Linked DNA regions of Homo sapiens: region 1 is linked to region 2. The links are contacts of gene promoters, found by promoter capture Hi-C in blood cells and fetal thymus (Javierre and others, 2016). All regions are on one chromosome and are shown on one strand. The core of a region is centred on a gene start or on the middle of the fragment in contact, and the rest is flanking DNA. Distances in the headings are between cores, read along the strand shown. Region 1 overlaps LOC124904858 (a long non-coding RNA gene). Region 2 holds the start of SDCBP2 (syndecan binding protein 2).

Region 1 (6,251 bases), core at 515-3,014, 410 kb before region 2:
CAGGCATGAACCACCGCACCTAGACAAGGAAGCTTTTTTAACCATAGAATCTTAGGTAACTCTTTTTCTTACCATGTACATATATACTGTTTAAGTATCCAAATTTTAAAACCAATTTTTAATTTTAAAAATCTCAACTTGAATTTATCTGAGATTTCAGCTCATATTCACTGCAGAGTTATTTATAATATCAAAAAATGCAAACTTTATATCCAACAGTTTGGTATAAATTGGAAAAAAATAAACTAAACATTAAAAACCATATTGTGGAATATTTTGCAACATAGGCAAATATTCAAATACAGTAAATGAAAAACTGATTATAGATTATATTTCAATCTCCAATTGTGTAATAATCATATATGTACACGTATATGGTCAGGTCTCACTCTGTCTTCCAGGCTGGAATGCAGTGGCATAATCATTGCTCACTACAGCCTCAAACTCCTAGGCTCAAGGATCCTCCCACCTCAGCCTCCCAAGTAGCTGGGACTACAGGTGCATGCCAGTATGCCCTGCTAAACTTCATATGTTTTTGGAGAAACAGAGTCTCACTATTTTGCCCAGGCTATGCTTGAGCTCCTGGCTTCAAGGGAGACTTCTGCTCTGCTCACCCTGAAGATCTCAACTTAAAAGCCATATCCTGGCCGGGTGCGGTGGCTCACGCCTGTAATCCCAGCGCTTAGGGAGGTTGAGGCAGGCAGATCATGAGGTCAGGAGATTGAGAGCATCCTGGCTAACACGGTGAAACCCCGTCTCTACTAAAAATACAAAAAATTAGCTGGGCATGGTGGCATGCGCCTGTAGTCCCAGCTACTTGGGAGGTCGAGGCAGGAGAATCGCTTGAACCTGGAAGGCAGACATTGCAGTAAGTGCAGATGGGAGATCGCGCCACTGCACTCCAGCCTGGACAACAGAGCAAGACTCTGTAAAAAAAAAACAAAAAAAAAAAAAACAAAAAACCATATCCTGGAGGATGCAAATTAAGTCACATCTGCCAGGCAGGTATTCCCTTTTTTTTACAGCAGGTATCTCACATGATAATTACAAATACATTTGCCTCTCAGCCAACAAATATTTATTGAACCATACTCTGTGCCAAGCAATGTGGTTGGTACTAGAAATTAGGCGGAAAAATTCTTGTTCTTGTGTAACTTGCACTCAAATAACTGTAAGGTTACGCCTGTGCTAAGTGCTAGGAACGAGTATGTGGTAGTCCGAAAAACCCATGAAAAGGCAAATTGTACACAGAAACTAGCAAGGATTGCCCTAATACAAGAAATCCTAAGGAGGGGAATTAACCAGACCAAAGAGGGCATCGTTACCCAAGGAACCACACGTTCAAGAAGTAAAAGGCCAAAAAGGCTGTAGCAGAGCCAAGGGGAGTGTGCTGGAAGATGCCAGGCATGCCAGGCCGCCTGCACGTGAAGCACTTGTTGATCTGTTGTCTGGAAACAATGGGGTTATTAGGCGACGGGCAGAGGGAGGATCATACCTGATTAATAGGGACGGTTCCCCTCTGGGCTGAGAGTCTGTGTGTCCGTCTCACTCGGTGGCATCCCAGGAACCCAGAATAGCACTGCACGTAATAGGTGCTCCATAGGGTACCGGCCTGGGTGAACGGGGGACGGGCCTCTGCGGCCGGATGGACCACCCAGGGCCACACCTCCAGCGGCGACCCACATCCACGGCCCCCATATCCCAGGGCGGCCGCAGCAGGAGAGGGAGGGAGGGAGTCCCAGGGCCGCCCCGCAGACCGCCCCTGCCCTCTGGGTCCCCACGCCGCTGCCAGCCTCCTGCCGAGGTTCGGACTCCCGGGGGCCTTGAGGAACCGAGAAGCCGCCTCCTCCCGGGTGGGCGACGTCGCAGGACCGGGACGCTTCACAGAAGTCTCCCTACTGGGCACTCATCTCCCGCGGCCGGCAGCACCGGGCTCTGGAAGTGCCAAGACTTTGTTTTTTCAAGAGACAGGGTCTGGCTGTATTGTCCACGCTGTCCTTGAACTTCTGAGCTCAAGTGATCCTCCCACCTCAGCCTCCCTGGTAGCTGGGACTACAGGTGGATGCCGTCATGCCTGGTTACTAGAGGGACTTACACACACACACACACACACACACTAAAAAAAACCTACTAAACTACTTTTTAGAGAAGTTTTAGGTTCACAGAAAAATTGAACAGAAAGTACAGGGAGTTCCCATATACCCACTTGGTGTTGTACACTCTATGGATGTATAATGACATGCATCCACCATTGATGTATTGTACAGAATAGTTTCACTGTCCTAAAAATCCCTGTGCTCCACCTATCCAGCCTCTCTTTTTTTTTCTTTTTCTTTTTCTTTTCTTTTCTTTTTTTTTTCTTTTTTTTTTTTGAGATGGAGTCTTGCTCTGTCACCCAGGCTGGAATGCAGTGGCGCGATCTCAGCTCCCTGTAACCTCTCCCTCCCGGGTGTAAGCATTTCTCCTGCCTTGGCCTCCTGAGTAGCTGGGATTACTGGCACGTGTCACCATGCTTTGCTAATTTTTATATTTTTAGTAGAGACGGGATTTCACCGTGTTGGTCAGGCTGGTCTTGAACTCCTGATATCAGGTGATCCCCCTGCCTCTGCCTCCCAAAGTGCTGGGATTACAGACATGAGCCACTGCACCTAGCTGACTAAACCTCTTTTCTTTATAAATTACCCAGTGTCAGGTATTTCTTTATAGCAGTGTGAGAACAGACTAATACAGTAAGTATTATACATAAATGCAGCTGGTCTTCCTAAGGATGGTTGCCCCTTAAAGGAAAGCTCAGTTTCGTCCAGCAGTTTCCCGTAATTTTAGAATTTCCTTTTCAAAAGTGTCCAAGGCTAGGACAGTGTATCAGGTCAAAGTGTGTTGCTTTGTGAGCATCACTCCACAAAGTGTCACCAGTGAGTCATGAGTCCCTCTCCTGCATGTAACAGCTGTTCATGCAATTCTCTTCGAGAGAATTGAACTCATCCTCATGTTTCCTTTGGTTTTGAACAAACAGGAATTGGTCACAAATGAAAATACAAGTCTGAATTTCATGCAATAGGGAACAGCTACAATTTTAACAGCATGCTATGTAATTTTAGGCCAAAAGAAATGAAACTACTTATGGTAGACTGCCAATGCTACGACCTGGAACACCTGCTGTGAAATAGCAGCAGAGGAGACAGTTATCTTTTGTTTTATTCCTGAAACCAGAATCTCCTGCCCATAGACAGAGATCAAAACCTCCATTCTAAAGAGAGGCAGTTGGAGAGAACAGCCCAAATAAAGGCAAAACCTCACCAAAAAAGAAAGGGAGATCTGAATTCAGGAGGACTCACCCTTTTACACCCTGTGAAACCTCTGGAGTCTGAGGAACATAGTGCATTAATGCTGGTACCAAGCACTGAGCCCAAGAGGGAAGGCAGCATGTTCAGTGTTGGGAGGTCCCTCTGAATCCTGCTGACTACAGCGGACATGTCTACCTAAGAGAAGAAGCTTAGATAAAATTAATATAAGTAGAAGGTCTATTTGGGCCAAATTTGAAGACTGTAACCCAGGAAACACCTCCAAGTCACTTTGGAGAATAAAGAACAGACTCGAGCTTTTAAGGAAAAAGGACAAACCAGGGGAGGGGATGATTACAAAAGTTTTTGTCAGGAATTCTCATTGCTTTACAAAAATAACATTGATTAGTAACCTTTATACGTTATTTAACTATAGAATATGACTTATAGTGTCCACATATGGCATTGTTACATTAAATTGTATCTACCTGGGGCATCAGTCAGTCTAGAGTCCACATGGCAAGCAGCCTCAAGAGATGGTTACTTAGCTGAAGGAGGGAAGTGGGACATGACTGCTTTCTCATTCCAGTGCCTCTCTGGGCCTGATAATTGAAAGGGGCATTGCATTCCTCAGATTAAAAGGTTTTTGTGCAATTTATATTAAAATACGGATGTACCCAGAATTTATTTAATTACCCTTTACTTTTTCCTGCTGTGTATTGTTTTTAAATCATTATGTAATCTAAGGGTAGCATTATGCTTTCTGTCAGGCCTCCAGCCCAAGCTCAGCCATCATATCCCCTGTGACCTGCATGAATACATCCAGATGGCCTGAAGCAAGTGAAGAATCACAAAAGAAGTGAAAATGGCCGGTGCCTGCCTTAATTGATGACACTCCACCATTGTGATTTATTCCTGCCCCACCTTAACTGGGTGATTAACCTTGTGAAATTCCTTCTCCTGCCTCAGAAGCTCCCGCACTGAGCACCTTGTGACCCCCACCCCTGCCCACAAGAGAAAAACACCCTTTGACTGTAATTTTCCACTACCCACCCAAATCCTATGAAATGGCCTCACCCCTATCTCCCTTTGCTGACTCTCTTTTCAGACTCAGCCTGCCTGCACCCAGGTGATTAAAAAGCTTTATTGCTCACACAAAGACTGTTTAGTGGTCTCTTCACATGGATGCACGTGACATTTGGTGCCATGACTCTGATCGGGGGACCTCCCTTGGGAGATCAATCCCCTGTCCTCCTGCTCTTTGCTCTGTGAGAAAGATCCACCTATGACCTCGGGTCCTCAGACCAAGCAGCCCAAGGAACATCTCACCAATTTTAAATCGGGTGAGTGGCCTCTTTTTACTCTCTTCTCCAACCTCTCTCACTATCCCTTAACCTCTTTCTCCTTTCAATCTTGGCGCCACCCTTCAATCTCTCTCTTCCCTTAATTTCAGTTCCTTTCCTTTTCTGGTAGAGACAGAGGAGATGCGTTTTATCCATGAACCCAAAACTCCGGCACCAGTCACAGGCTCGGGAAGACAGTCTTCCCTTGGTGTTTAATCACTGCGGGATGCCTGCCTGATTATTCACCCACGTTTCAGAGGTGTCTGATCACCGCAGGGACGCCTGCCTTGATCCTTCACCTTAGTGGCAAGTACCACTTTGCTGGGGCACAAATACCCCCCACCCCTTCTCTCCATGTCTCTACCCTCTCTTTTCTCTGGGCTTGCCTCCTTCACTATGGGCAACCATCCACCCTCCATTCCTCCCTCTTCTCCCTTAGCCTGTGTTCTCAAAGACTTAAAACCTCTTCAGCTCACACCTGACCTAAAACCTAAACACCTTATTTTCTTCTGCAATGCTGTTTGACTCCAAAACAAACTCGACGATGGTTCCAAATAGCCAGAAAACGGCACTTTCAATTTCTCCATCCTACAAGATCTAGATAATTCTTGTCATAAAATGGGCAAATGGTCTGAGGTGCCTGACATCCAGGCATTCTTTTACACATCGGTCCCTCCCTAGTCTCTGTTCCCAATGTGACTCACCCCAAATCCTCCTTCTTTCCCCCCCACCTGTTCCCTCAGTCCCAACCCCAAGCATCGCTGAGTCTTTTCAATCTTCCTTTCCTACTGACCCATGTGACCTCTCCCCTCCTCCCCAGACTGCTCCTCTTCAGGTCGCTCCCCGCCAAGCTAAATCAGGCTCCGATTCTTCCTTGGCCTCTGCTCCTCCACCCTATAATCCTTCTATCACCTCCCCTGTGCACACCTGGTTCAGCTTACAGTTTCATTCTGAGACTAGCCCTCCCCCACCTGCCCAACAATTTCCTCTTAGAGCGGTGGCTGGAACTGAAGGCATAGTCAGGGTACATGTGCCTTTTTCTCTATCAGACCTCTCTCAGATCAGCCAGTGTTTAGGCTCTTTCTCATCAGACCCCACTAAATATATACAGGAATTCCAATATCTAACTCTGTCCTACAATTTAACCTGGAGTGACTGAAATGTCATCCTAACTTCTACCCTATCCCCAGATGAATGGGAAAGAGTTTTTTCTCCAGCCCAATCTCACGCTGATAACTGCCGGCTTCAAGAGCCAGACCTCCAGGAAGGCATTAGAGCAGTTCCCCGAGAGGATCCCCAATGGAACTATCAGGCAGATTCCCCAGGTATAGCTAGGCAAGATTATATAATTTCCTGCCTAGTTGAAGGGTGTAAAAAGGCAGCTTACAAAGCTGTTAAAGAACTGTTAAAGAACAAAGCTTAAAGAAACTACCCAAAGTAAACATGAAAACCCCGCCCAGTTCATGGCTGGTTTGGCAGCAACCGTGAGATGCTTTACAACGCTAGACCCTGAAAGGTCAGAAGGCCGTCTTATTCTCAATATGCATTTTATCACCCAGTCAGCTCCTGACATTAAAAAAAACTTCAAAAATTAGAATCCGGCCCTCAAACCCCACAAAAGGAATTA
Region 2 (6,228 bases), core at 3,102-5,601:
AGCTCAGAAATAGCATGAAGGACATTGTGTTTGGAGACCAAATGCTCATAGTGGACATCTTTGGTGTTCACGCCACAGGAGGGACTGGAAGTGGCAATAGAGTTGGCCCTTTGTGGGGCCTTAGTACCGTTAGGGCAAACCTCAGAGAAAATCCATCCAAACTCTTCCCTGGCCAAATACGGAGACTGAGGTCCAGAAAGGGCAGGGCTTCACAGCATGCTATAGTAGAGGCTGGCACAGAACCTGCTAACAATAGACTGCCTCCATTTCCCAGTCTCCCATGCAGCTCTATGTGGCCATGTGATCAAATTTTTGCCACCTAAGGACTTCTTTGTGGGTTTCTTAAAGAGAAATCTGTGACTCAGCTGCACTAGGGTAGGAGACTCCTAGAGGTTCAGAGCCAAGGCCTGGCCTTACCACTCTTGGGGTGTGTTGCCTTGGGCAAAGTGCTTCACTCTGAAGCTGGGAATTATGGTGAACAGATGAGATCAGTGTATGCCCAGTGCCCAGCAGAGCACCCAGTGTGCAGGAGCTCAATAAATGCTACGCTTCCTGTTATTATTTCAATTCAGCAGTAGGAACAAAGCTGTGATGACATAAGCCAGGGTCTTGCTGCACTACCCAGATTCCATGCAGAGGGCTGGAGTGTAGAGCAGCTCCTTCTCTGCCCAGCCGACATTCTCTCTTCTTCTGGGAAGAGCATCTCTATTTTCACTCCAATCAGATGACTGTTTCTGTGACATGTAGCCATGAGAAAGTAGGAAACTAACATTTACTAAATGCCAGCTGTGTCCTAGGTACTTCACATGGTTACCTCATTTAGTCTTCAGGATAAGTCTATAAAGAAGGTAGGTGTGGAAACTACAGCTCAGAGAGGTTTAGTAACATGTGCAACATCACAGAGCTGGGACTCAGATCGGATGCCCCAGCCCAACCCATCTTTTAAATAAGGGTCAGCCATTTAAGTTTCTAACTGTGATTGACTTTTCTAGGAGGGGCATTTATTCACTCAGTCAATATTTACTGAGGCCAGGTGTGGTGGCTCACGCCTGTAATCTCAGTACTTTGGGAGGCCAAGGTGGATACATCCCTTGAGCCCAGGAGTTCAAAACCAGCCTAGGCAACATGGCAAAACCCCATCTCTACAGAAAATACAAAAATTAACCAGCTGTGGTGGCATACGCCTGTGGTCCCAGCTATTCAGGAGGCTGAGGCAGGAGGATTGTGGGAGGCTGAGGCAGGAGGATCTTGGGAGGCTGAGGCAGGAGGATCGTAGGAGGCTGAGACAGGAGGATCACTTGAGCCTGGCAGACAGAGCAAGACCATATCTCAAAAAAAAAAAAAAAATTTACTGTGAGCCTGCTATGTGCCAGGCATAGTACTAGGCCTCAGGGTTAAGACAAGCCCCTGCCATCATGGAGCACCCATTCCAGATGGCATGGAGACTTCACCTCATGAGCCAACTCTAGGTGACGGTAGCTGCCTGCAGCATTATGACGAGAGGATCCGGAGAGGCCTCTGGGCCCAGCAGGAAGGACATTAGTGGTTGATTACTCAGGGTGCCATGGGTGCTACCAGGGAGTTTCTGAGTGTGTGCTGTTTACTGGCCACCCAAAGTTTTAGACTTGTTCATACAAATATATAACAAAGCAGAAATATTGTCTGGTCAGAGCACAGTTCCACTCCTTATTTTGAAAAGAGTAACTGGCTGGGTGTGGGGTCTCACACCTGTAATCCCAGCACTTTGGGAGGCTCAGGCAGGCAGACTGCTTGAGCCCAGGAGTTTGAGACCAGTCTGGGCAACATGGCAAAACCCTGTCTCTACAGAAAATAAAAAAATTAGCCAGGTGTGGCAGTGTGAACCTGTCGTCCCAGCTAATAGGGAGGCTGAGGTGGAAGAATCCTTTGAGCCTGGGAGGTGGAGGCTGCAGTGAACCATGATTGCACCACAGCACTATGGCCTGGGTGACAGAGCGAAATGCTGTCTCAAAAGAATGACCACTGTAGAGCTAATAACTTGGCCCTGCCCTCAGGGAACTTAGGGTCTAACTAGTAGCCTAAAAGGTACACATGAGTACAAGATGATGATTATTAAAGAATGGAACAGGAGCGTCTGATCCAGAGTCAGAGGCGGGAGAGGCCACATGGATGTGGGGGATCCCAGAGGCTTCCTGGAGGAGCTCAGTGGTGGATGTGGCTAGGTGGGTGGGGGCAGGAGAAGGTGTTCCAGGGGCAGCAGCAGGACAGGCAAAGGTATGGAGTCAGGGCAGGTAGGAAGTGGGTGTGCAGTGGGGCAGGAATGGTGGGGCTCCCAGTCCAGCTGAGGCAGAGGTGCTGGGGGAGTGCTGAGGAGGTAATAAAGGGAGTGGGCTGTGGAGGTCTCCATGTCAGCCCTGGGAGTTTAGCCCAGACCCTGAAGCAGGAGGGAGCCACTGAAGAGTTCGAGCAAGGGCATGCCCAATGAAAGATATTTCCAGGTGGCTGGAAGTCAGTGATGGGTGGCAACTATCCAAAGAGGGAATAGAAAGAGAGTCCCTGTAGGTATTAAATAGGTGGGAGTTAGGGGACCTGGGCTCCATGCTGACATGCTGGGACCACAGGCAAGCCCCTTACCTGGAAGGGCCTGCTTCCTCCTCCCTCTTCTATAAAGGCCCTTTCAGGTCATGACTGAATGAAGTGAGGTGGGGGAGGAGTGGCTTGGTTTAGTTAGGATCTCTATTTTCCACTTTGCTTTGGCCTTGGACACCTGACCTAAGGTGGGTCCATCACCCACGTTACCTCAGCTTCAGGCCCACACAGCTTACTCTGAGGTTGCCCCACACCTCAGCTTTCTGAAACAGTATGTCCCATAGAAGAGAAGACATGAACTTGGCCCACTTTCCAGCTAACTTGAGAGAGAAACTTTGCCTCTGTGCCTCAGTGTCCCCACCTGGAGGAATGGTGTGAGTCACACCTACTCTGCAGGGATGGCATGAGAAGCCATTGAGATAATGCCTTTAAAGTGCCAGGGGTAGAATCTCTGTGCTCTCTGGGAGTAAGTGCTGAATTAGTGGCAAATGTCTTTCTTGTTATTATTCCTATTGTGTGTTTCCTGTGTGGGACTCTGGGCTGTAAGCTCTTCATTGGCAGGCACAAGATCTGACACCCAAGGCTAGTGCAACTCTGCCAGGTGGGTCATGGGAACTGTGACGTAGGCCTGCCTGGCCCAGGAAGCAGCCCAGATACTGACACACCCTGAGTGTGTACAGCGTCAATCCTCATGGGACTGCCCAGCACACGAGTCCCTCGTCCCTCCCCAGGCACCCAGTGCGACAGGCACCCTCACCCAACCAAACCCACCAGGATCTAAACTAAATTCTTCCTCCTTTTCTGTTCAAATTTATATAATTATTTTTGGAATAAGTAGTACATTTAAACTTTTCAAAATTTAAGACACCAAAAATGTGCCATAAAAAAAAAAATCTCCACCTCAGCACACAGCTCCTTAGGTCTGCTCCCAAGAGACAACCACTCTAAATTCCCATTAAAATAATCAAACTTAATTGCTTCCCCCTTACAAAAGTCATGAGCATTCAGAGCAAAAGCTAACTTAAAAAAAAAAAAACCACCTTGGAACACACAAAAGTACAAACTGAAAACCTCACCCTCAATGCTGCCATTCAGAGATACTCAGCATTTTAGCGTATGTCCTCCTAGACTGCTTTCAACGCACATCCACTTTACAAAAAATGAAAACAAAATGCAAGAAGAGATTCACAATATTGATTTTTCAACATCTCACTAGAATCTCAGAAATGTTTCCTCATACCTTCTTCCTTAAGTGACTTTAATAGCTCTGTGATCTTCCACAGACAATGATTTATTCAAGCAGACCACAGAGATGGGCATTTGGGATTTCTACATTTTCCTTACTAGAAGCAGCAGTGATGGATGGGCCCTGTGACTCCACTGTAACAAATTCCTAGAAGAAATGCTGGGTCACAGGATATGACCACTTTTTAATATCCTGGCCTAGACCCCTAGATACCTATCACAAACCGCCCTCTAGCCAACTGCCTCGATCAGCAGGACTAGGTGTCCAACCCAAATTTAGAGCTATTTAAGAAAAGGCCAAGAAGTCTTGGTTCATAACCGTCTGAACAGCAGCTGTGAGGGCCTTAATCCCACCTCCAAATCCAGACTAAGGCCAAAGGCCTCCTCTGGGCTGGCAACCTGCCTTGTTTACCCAGCCACAGCCCTCACCTGTGCCCATCCCAGTCCAAGGTGAGTCAGCTGAACAGGGGACAGGCACCACCCTTCCCAGATCAGGAAGCCAGCTGAGAGACAGGGCTACGTTTCAGGGAGGGAAACAGATTCAGCAGCGGCAGCAGCTGGAGAAGGTCGTGGAGCAGCACCTTGCCTGCAGGTAAGCGCTGGGGGCCCTGACCCAATCCTGGCTGGGATTGGGATGAGTGAGACCTGCTCTCACCCTGTCCCCTTCCCTCCCTGCCCCTTCCCTTCTGGGACTTCCCAGGCAGCTTCCTTTCGAAGTGCTTCACTCCAAGCAGTCAAGTGTGAAGTGGGGTTTCTTCTTCTGATCCCAGCCCTGGACCAAGTTTGATTAAGGGCTGAGTGATTTTCTTCACCCAGACATCATGAGGGCCCCCGATGCCTTCTGACTGCCCATGACTGTGCTCAAGGAGATGAGATCCACACTTTGCTCCTTGAAAGGCCAATTCCAGCCGAAACCAGAGGCTGCAGGCAGGCAAAAAGCCCATTTCTCCCAAGGAATCCACAGCTCAGGCCGACTTCTCTGGCCTGAGGCTGTTTCTATCAAAAAACCTTCCTGCCACAGCACTGAAACACCTGCTGGGGAACTGCGCCAGGGGCTTCACCTTTCTAAGAACTGGTTTCTTCATCTGGAGACTGAAAATAGCCCACAAAGTCAGGAGAATGGAAGGACATACTGGACACAGGAGCCAGTGCATGCCCTCCTCAGCAGGGTCTCAGAAAATGGGGCAGAAAACGAGCCTGGTATGGGCTGGGCGAGCACTGGACAGGCAGCTTCACGTACAGTGGCCCAAGCTCATGACAATTCCACCACCATCACTTCCCACCTGGGCTCCTGCTCCCACTCCTGCCCTGTAGCCCATCCTCCAAACATCAGCCAGAGGAGGCCTGTCAAAATAACCCTTGGACCTTGGCACTCTGCTGCTACAAATCCCCCAGTGGCTCCCATCTCACTACAGTAAATGCCAAAGTCCTCACCATGACCTCCAGGCCCTCCAGGATCTGGCCCCTCTCACTTCTCCAGCTTCCTCCCCACTACTCCTCCTTACTCCCTCTCTGCACAACTGGCTTCTCACTGGCAGATGTCCTCTAAACACAACACCAACTCCCACCTGAGAGGCTCTGCAATGGCCGTGCCCACCCCATTAGGCCTTTCCTCAAATGTCACCCCACCCAGCCAGCAAGGCTTCTGAACCTCCTGACATGACCCTCCGTCCTGCTCTTTCTCTCCAGTGCCTCCCACCATCTAACACAGCACACAGAGTCACAAAGCCTATTTATCCAGCTCTTCCCCCAAAGAAAGTACATTTGGGGACCAAGTCTTCTTTCCTTCACTGCTGATACCTAGAACAGTACTCAGACTTAGCAGGTGCTGAGTAAGTAAGCGCTGAAACAATGAATAAACAGCTAACTTTTACTGAATGCCTATTATGTGCTAGGTGCTGTGCTAAATGCTTTCCATATACACCTTAACTCTTTTTAAAAATCTTTCAGTCTCCAGACAACTGTGATGCAACTATTGTTATCCAGATTACAAAGGAAGAAATGACATTCAAAGGGGATTTGCCTATGCTGTGCTCTCACAAGTCAGAAGCAGTCAGTCTGAACCCTGCCCTGCCTGGGCCTGGGTTCAGGCGTGTCTGCTTGAGGAAGTCACAGCTTTTCCCCAGCAGGCAGTGCAGCACTGAGAGGAGGAGTGGGGGTACATGCTGGTGGCCTAGCAACAGCTTCTTCTATTCCGACTCACCACATCCCTGGGCTAATTTGGCCTTCCAGGAGCTATTCCTCTGACACTCTAACCCACGCTTCCCTCCCGCGCACTGTCTTGTAAAGGACGGATGAGCTGTCCACAGGAACGAGTGGGAGTTCCATCACTTCAGCTCTTTGGAACAAAGTGTTCCAAAGAGTGTTCTCACTCTAAGTTCAAAGATGGGGGCTGAAGTCCCCTTGTCAGCCCTG

What was found. The method cuts DNA at HindIII sites, captures the fragments that hold promoters and counts their contacts. A CHiCAGO score of 5 or more calls a contact.
Region 1: a contact is called between a fragment that was not itself captured here and the fragment with the promoter of SDCBP2 in region 2, in 1 of 17 cell types (naive CD4 T cells). The highest score is 5.8, in naive CD4 T cells.

The regions. Positions count from the first base shown.
Region 1 is chr20:1,731,365-1,737,615 of GRCh38, reverse strand. It overlaps LOC124904858 (a long non-coding RNA gene), which reads left to right. Exons shown (of 3, transcript XR_007067498.1): 3 at 4,390-4,440. Among named protein-coding and RNA genes, the nearest start is that of SIRPG, 77 kb to the right of the region's middle. The HindIII fragment of the contact is 3,460 bases long and covers 35-3,494 here.
Region 2 is chr20:1,327,262-1,333,489 of GRCh38, reverse strand. SDCBP2 (syndecan binding protein 2) reads left to right here and starts at 4,351. Exons shown (of 9, transcript NM_080489.5): 1 at 4,351-4,405. The region is part of intron 2 of FKBP1A-SDCBP2 (FKBP1A-SDCBP2 readthrough (NMD candidate)); the gene reads left to right. All of the region lies in intron 1 of SDCBP2-AS1 (SDCBP2 antisense RNA 1), which reads right to left. The HindIII fragment of the contact is 15,880 bases long and covers 1-6,228 here.